2 separate regions of the Homo sapiens genome follow, and region 1 is linked to region 2. Evidence: promoter capture Hi-C in 16 types of primary human blood cells and fetal thymus (Javierre and others, 2016). All regions are on one chromosome and are shown on one strand. The core of a region is centred on a gene start or on the middle of the fragment in contact, and the rest is flanking DNA. Distances in the headings are between cores, read along the strand shown.

Region 1 (3,877 bases), core at 1,133-3,632, 470 kb after region 2:
CTGGTCCTTTAGTGTTATGAAACAGAAAAATAGTCCTAATGGGCTAGGTAAGTCCAACGATAATTTGTTGCTATGATTTTTAAGTGATTCAAGCTAACCTCTATTCAGCATATTTTTTAGTAGGATAAATATAATTAGTATAAGGGCAATCCCCTGGAAATGAGTTACCATTTGGTTAAATCTTAAGTTTGCTTGAATGTAGAAATTTATGCTGCAACCTAAGGCTGTACAATCAATCCTATACAATTAGCCAACTTCATTGCCTGTGGAGATGGCTGGCATGATGTTTGGTAGTGCCATGATTCAAAAAATTTCTAATCAAGTTCCACTTGTATCCAGAAAAAAAAATTCAGAAATCTCAGTCATGTGGCTTAAAAACAAATGTTCTTCATCACCTAGATTCTCTTAAACATTATAAAGTAAATAACACGTAGAGTATTCAATTAATGAGATAGGTCACCTGTCAGCTCCTCAACATGTTATCTTATGGCCTAGACGTTTCTGAAAAGTTTGTGTTTAAAGCTTATTTACTGAATACTGGTGAAAAAATATAAAAGAAAAATTTCATGATTTACCTAGCCAGGAGAAGGTAGAAGGTACCTTTTAACATAATTTATGGTGTTACACCTGAAGTGTTCATGAAATTAAAAGCTTATAATCCTAACTTCCACCCAGTTAATAGATATTTCCCCTTAGGAATACATTCCTCTCATAGCTTTGTGCTTTATTTAAAGCTTTTAAATTATAGCCTCTGTGGATAATGTCAACAATCTTTTCAAATCTGACTCAGTTAATTTAAGTTTCCAAGAAGTAGAAAATAATGTTATAAATTCAGAAGGCATCATGAATTTATAACCCTGTGTGTAGGTGCTGTGAATTCTATGCAAAAATGTAAAAAGAGATGATTAAGCAAAATTGTTTTCAGTCTCACCTGTTTTTAGAATCATCTGTAAAAAAAGTAGATGGTAGAGAAAGGGATGTGATTTCTTCCCTAGACTAATTTATAATATAAAAAGTCTTCACTTAAATCACTGTCATAAATTATGAGAGTACTTTTCACAGACCCTTGAACATTAGTGGCTTTCATCTAAAAATGACCCATTCATGTAGTTTTGAAAATTCTACCTAAATGGATTAGTTGAAATGACATCATCTTGACACTTTCTTCATTTCTAAGTTCATGAGAGTAAGCCAGAAGAGCATCTCCCCAGAGTACTCCTTGTGCCTGTTTAAAGAAAACCTACAATTTTAAGGAGAAAGGAAGAAAAACGCAGAAAAGCTCCATATATTCTATATAAAGTTTGTGGCCCCGGTATTTGAGATTCATAAAAAGGTTTAAAGGATTGTCCAGCACTTCTGTTTGAACTGTTAGGCCAGATTTCTGTTTTGGTGTCTCTGGCTTGCTAGTATCATCTATGATGCAAGAATCTCTTATTTTTCTCTCTGTTTTTCTGAAATCAACCATACAAATGAATTTCTCAGGTTGCTGAATATTTTATTAAATCTGTAACAGTCAGGAATTCTACTTATGGCTAATGCTGCCTTTCACTCAACTTACGGGTAATTTATAAATACTGGTGCATGATGTATGACATTTCAATCGCAGGCTGAAATGCATAAAAATGCAGGCAATTTTATGCATCTGGTAAGGTATATCTTATAGGAGATTCATGCATATTGAAAGAAACTTTTTATTATCAGTTTAACTACATTAATATATCACATTCCTTTCTTTCATAGGCTGCCAAAATGGCAAATTATGCCAAGTTTCAGAAAATGTGTGATCTCCTGTTTGTTATGTTTGCCGTGGTTTTTATCACCACACGACTGGGTATATTTCCTCTCTGGTGAGTATGCCAGTCTCCTTCCTGATAGAGCCACCCTTTCCAAATAAGCTTTCTGAACCATTTTCCTTTTGAATTTTACTGTAAGTATTTACAGGTTTAAATATATTGGGGGGGAGGGGAAATACCTCAAGAAGCTGCTTGATTTCTTCTTCCAGAAGAGGGTTGCACTCTTTACTAATGATTTCCACAGGATAGTTGGAAAAGGATGTGGCTTGCATGGCTTCTGAAGCCACAGAAAGCCATCTGTCATAGAAGGCACTAGTCTAGAATATGACTCAAGAACCTCAGCTGTGAAGGTTGGAATTAAGAAAGAAACCGTGGTGTTGCAAACAAGTATATGACAGGAATCTCCTGTACCAGGGGTTCACAGAGGGTTGTCCCTGGATTAGCAGTAGCAGCATCACCTAAGAACCTGTTAGAAATGCACATTCTTGGCCCCACCCCAGGCCCACTGAGTGAGAAACTCTGGATATAAGTCCTGGCAATGTGTTTTAATAAGCCTTCCTGATGATTCTGCTGCATGTTAAAGTTTGAAAACCACTATCCTAGATAATTCTTTTCATTAGCTGTATACCTTTCTAACCAAATAGAGTCTTTGAATTATATCCAAAGTCTCTTCCAGCTTTGTGTTACTTGGCAAATAGATGCTTTTCATATTTCTTCCAACTTACTGAAGAAAAACGTTGACCAAGAGGGATTCCTGCTCCACCCCTGAAGAATTTCTTTAGGTTGACCTCAGTCCCCCAAACACCAATCTTCCTGTATGATTTTTCTACTCATTACTAAGCCTTCTAACTGTTAGATCGTCATGCCTGCTATTTCCCCACCTTGTTTCAGGTATATAAAAGAGCTTTGTCAGAGGTCTTAAGGAATTCAGGATTTACTCTGTTGAGTCACTCCCTGCACAGGTAGAGGCAGAGTCAGAAAAAGAATGTGAAGTCAGATTTTAGAAAACCTTTGCTGACTCCTGGGTCTTCATTCTAAGTACTTGCCCCCATCTGTGTGATTAGCCATCTACAACAGTAAGCTTACCAGTCTAGAATATCCATTCTTTGCCTTTTCCATATTGTTTAGGTGTGGACTTTAAAATTCCAATGAGCTGCCATTTTTTGTGTGTATTTAGTGAAAATTTACTGGTCATTTGCTGCATTACCAGCACTGAGATGGTACTGGTAATGCTGATAATTCAGTTAGACATAGGGCTGCCCTTGGGGCATTTACAGTTGAATTCCTACAGGTCCTTTTAATATTCCAGTTTATAATTTGGGGTATGGGGTGGGGGAGGCCAGAGGTTATAAATTTTTTTTCCAAACATTTACTGGACATAGGTAATATAGATGGATTATCAATATTTAAATAGTTTTGTTGCATTTACTGAGGAGCTCTGTTGGCTAAATTATACATTATAGCAGATATATTTGTGTGTGTGAAATAGTGACTCACCTGTAGAGGGTAAGGTGTAATGGAGGTAGATCAGACTTTAGTTTTAAGAAGCATTTCATAGACCTATTTCCCCTTCAAAGACTGTGCTTTAGGTAGAAGAAACAAAATTATTTCCCCTGCCTTATATTCCTTTTGTTTTCAACCCATTTCTTTGGATTCACCAACAATACCTTCCAGGTTCCTCTTGACTATATTTGAATTCATCATGAGTCATCAGAATATTGGTAATTGATGGGTTTAGTAACACTTGGCTTATTCTCTGTTATATCAGCAATCCATGGTCCTCAAAGACAGCATACACCATGATTAGCCTTTTAAGAACCATGCACTGCTCCTCCAGACTTCTCTTCCAGTCACAATACATCCTTCTAGAACAACCCTGTCCAAAAGAAATATAATGCAGGCTTTATAGTAATACAATATTTTCTAGTAGCCATACTAAAGGTTCTTTTTTTTTTAAAAGATGAAAGGTGATATCCATTTAAATAACATATTTAACTCAGTATATTCAAAATAGTATTTTTTTTTTTTTAAGACAGAGTCTTTCCCTGTCGCCCAGGCTGGAGTGCAGTGGTGTGATCTTGGAT
Region 2 (3,596 bases), core at 442-2,941:
TTGTATATATCCTAGGTTACGGACCTGCCCAACATTTTCTCACATATTTTTATGTATATATTTATATATATATTTCCGTCTATGCTGTTTTATTCCCCAATAGCAGGTGATAAAGGCTCATTTAAACACCTAGTGAAATTTTTATATCTGTTTTAATTTTTTTAAAAGGAGGTGAAGAATTTTTTGAAGTGAAAGTTAGAAAAAATACTTAAGATAAATATTCTGAACTCCTTTTTCATCGCTGTACTTATATACCAAGATTCTGGAAAGGCAACATCCCATCCCTGCGTCAGTAAGGTTAGACGCTGAGGGCCCACTTAACCTGGAGGCTTCCCTAAGTGACAAGACTCTCAAACTGGATGATCCAATAGGGAAGGTTCTAAGTCAAGGGACAAAACAAATCTCCTGGCCCTTCAAGTGCTTGGCCCAAGGAAAAGTAACGCCGAGCCCTGCGACTCTGCCAGGTATTTAAAAATGTAAGATAAGGTGATATTTGTGAGCCGGCCAGAAGGCAACGAAAGGCAGAGAGCAGATCACCGGCAGCCTCGGATTTCACTCTTGCAGCTCGGCCTGAAACAGAGGGAAGCATCGGCCCGGTGCAGGGCAGGAGGCCAGGGCACCCGCTTTCCCCGGGGAGCCGGACTGGGCGGCAGGCGGCGCACCCTGGCACGGAGGGAGGCGGGTACCCGGGCGCGCCGAGTGGCGCGGAGAGCCGGGCTGCAAGGCGGGCGTGGAGTGGCGGCTGTCAGGAAGAGAGGCCAGCATCCTCCCCGGCCTCAGAAAAGCACTGGGGCCTCCGCGGCTTCTACGTGGCCCCGTTACCCACGACGAGAGGGTCACGACGGGAGGCAGAGGAGCGGCTGCGCCCGCAGAGTCCCCCAGGACGCGGCCCCCGGGGCCCTGGAAACCCAGGGCGGGGCCCCCGCAACCACACCCCACCCGCGGCTGCCTGTCCGCGTGGCCACCGGCCACGGGCTGCGGTCCCGGCACGCGGGGGGAGGAAGATGCGGCGGCGCCGCCTGGTCCTCCGCTCCACCGCCCCGGCGATCCCTGAGATAAAAGTTTGCAGCATGCGGCTCGTCTGCAGTGCGAGTCACATCCGCCGCGCCGCCTCCTGCAGCACCAACGCTCATAGAACGAACAAATACATTAAAAATTAAAAAAAAAAAAAAAAAAAAAAAAAAAACTGTTGAAGCCAGTAGGCCCCGAAGCCGGCCTCTCTGCCTCCAGGGCGTGCATGCAGGCTAGCCCAGCATCCCGCGCCCCCTCCCGCCCGGCCTCGGCGCCCGGCCTGTGCCGGCCCCGCCGCGCCCGCCGCACTGACCGATAACCTCCTGCAGCTCGTACGCGTCCCTGCAGATGGGCCAGCCGACAGCCTGTGCCGCCGGGGCCGGGGCCGGGGCCGGGGCCGCGGGAGCTGCCGGGGCCGGCGCTGCTGTCGCGGCCGCCGGGGCCGCCGCCGCCGCCGCTGTCACCGGGGCCGCCTGCTGGGGAAGCTGGACGTGCACGGGCGAGCCGCTCGGCTCCGCCATGATGCTGCGGAGGAGAGCAGGAGGACGCGCCGGCCGACGGACGACCTTCCACTTGAAACTTCCTTTGCCTCGCCGCCGACACCTCTCGGCCGGCGCACGCCCTCCCCGCCCGCCGCCGCCGCCGCCGTCCCCGCCGAAGCCAGCTAGGAGGGGAGGGAGCAAGGGAGGCCGAGCTGGGCGGAGGGAGGAGGCAGCGCCGGCGGAGGCGGGGAAGGGAGGAGGCGGCGGCCGCTGCGCTCGCCGCGCGCCCAGAGCCTAGCGCGCGCTGTTCTCCGCCTCGGCGAGGGGAACCGCCGCCCCCCCTCTCCGCCGCCCCCTCCCGCTCCCGCTCCGCTGGCGGCCGGGGAAGTTCCCACCAAAGGAGTCAGGCCGCTTTGTGTGTGCTTTCGGGGCCACCGGCCCTGGTTCTCCTCCTCCCTCCCTGCTCGCCCTGCGCCTTGGCCCCAGACGATCAGGCTTGCCGGAGGACGCCCCCTGGGGACCCCGAGGGCGGGGTCGTTGAACGGCCGCCAGGTTCTCACATTCAGAATTCTCCTGCCACCAAAGAGAACCTGAAGTTCATTTACAAGTTGACGAGCGGGATACCTACATGGTGTCCCTTTGCAAGACGCCAGTTAGAAAATAACCCAAGTTGTAAGTTTCCGGCGCTTTACTTGCCGGTATCCCTTTCCCACCTTGCCTAATCTAATCGCAGTCCTTCTAGTTTTTCTTAGTAAATGAAACTTGATTCCTTAGGTCTCTGGCTGTTCAGACTTCATTTTTTCCAAGCCGCCTGGATCCCAGGGAGGCGATTTAAGGGGCTGTGGAATTAGAATAAGACATGCAGGAGAGGTTTAGAAAGTTTGCTCAAATTCTACACCCTTAATAATTGCCACGTTAGCCCGTGAGGACACTGAGGCCAGACATCAGGCGTTTCTTTAAGAGCGTATACTTGGTGGGGAAATAATTTATTGGGGCATGAATAAACTGTGTTGGAAGCTTTTAATTGCTGTTTTTTCAACACCCCAAAAATAACCTCGTCTGTAAAACTGCTATGGTAAAACCATAGGTTTTCCTAATTATAGGTGTCATATTTAACAGTGAATGTTCTCTGTGTTCCCTCCGTGGAGGTGACCAGGATCCACCGTTCTTGTCTCCAACTGAAACGGGGCAGTAAACCAATAGTATTGGTCGTTTGGCCAAGATGATCTTGTCTGGTTCTCATTGCTAGGACTGCTGAAGAAATAGGTAAGAATAATGAGGATGTAATAAAAACTCTAGGGATATCATGATTTTGTCTCCCGAGTGTATGTACAGAAATCTCACTAAAATTTTTGAAAGATTATTCAGAAGAAGCCCAGAAATTTATTAGGAAAGTTAGTTGTCTAATCAAAACATTGATGTCCACTGAAGATGAGGGCACTTAATCTCTTGGAGCATTACAAAAGTTGGAGTAAAGCAGCTACCTCGCTCTGGTCTTGAAGCAGAAGTTCATGCTGAACTAAGTGTACATTCTTTGATGCGGAGGACTTCAAAAACTGTGTCTTGTCATGTCTGTCAAGAAACAGAGCCCTTCATAAACAAATTCTAGGCCTCTGAGGAACAGGGGAGCTCTTTATACCAAGCCATGGCTGCTGACCTCTTCAAGTGCTGCCTCCACCCTACCCCAAAGAACTTTTAAGGACTGTTTTTAAAGGAAAAGAAAAATGATCAAATGAATATGACTTCCATTTTGTCATATGAATTTCTATTTTTGACTTTCAAACCATGAAGTGGGATTATGAAGACCAGGAATGTTCTTGGGACTTAGTAGGAAAACATGATGCCGTCAAGATCAATATCACAGAATTGAATCAAACACAGATCAATTAGTCTCCCACAAAAAGCAACTGTTCCCCAGTCACAGACTACATGTCGGTCTCTAGTCAACCGCTTTCCAAATGGCTACCAGGATGAAGACTTGCTTGAGTGGATGACTCAGTGCACATCCATCATTTCTACAGTAAATCGGTTTAAAGAAGAATGTCCCCTGGCATTGCTCTTTGGCATCATTTTTATAAATGAAGAACAGAATATGAATAATAT

Evidence for each region. Contacts are between HindIII fragments. The CHiCAGO score rates a contact against its expected background, and 5 or more counts as called.
Region 1: a fragment that was not itself captured here is called in contact with the fragment with the promoter of STK39 in region 2 in 2 of 17 cell types (non-activated CD4 T cells and activated CD4 T cells); the score reaches 5.4 in non-activated CD4 T cells.

The regions. Positions count from the first base shown.
Region 1 is chr2:168,716,132-168,720,008 of GRCh38, forward strand. CERS6 (ceramide synthase 6) reads left to right here. Exons shown (of 10, transcript NM_203463.3): 8 at 1,741-1,847. Among named protein-coding and RNA genes, the nearest start is that of CERS6-AS1, 68 kb to the right of the region's middle. The HindIII fragment of the contact is 979 bases long and covers 1,894-2,872 here.
Region 2 is chr2:168,245,904-168,249,499 of GRCh38, forward strand. STK39 (serine/threonine kinase 39) reads right to left here and starts at 1,692. Exons shown (of 18, transcript NM_013233.3): 1 at 1,325-1,692. The coding sequence starts at 1,532. It overlaps LOC107985959 (a long non-coding RNA gene), which reads left to right and starts at 2,058. Exons shown (of 5, transcript XR_007087282.1): 1 at 2,058-2,165. RefSeq lists silencers at 578-777, 798-887, 978-1,027, 1,388-1,437, 1,648-1,897. The HindIII fragment of the contact is 2,511 bases long and covers 1-2,508 here.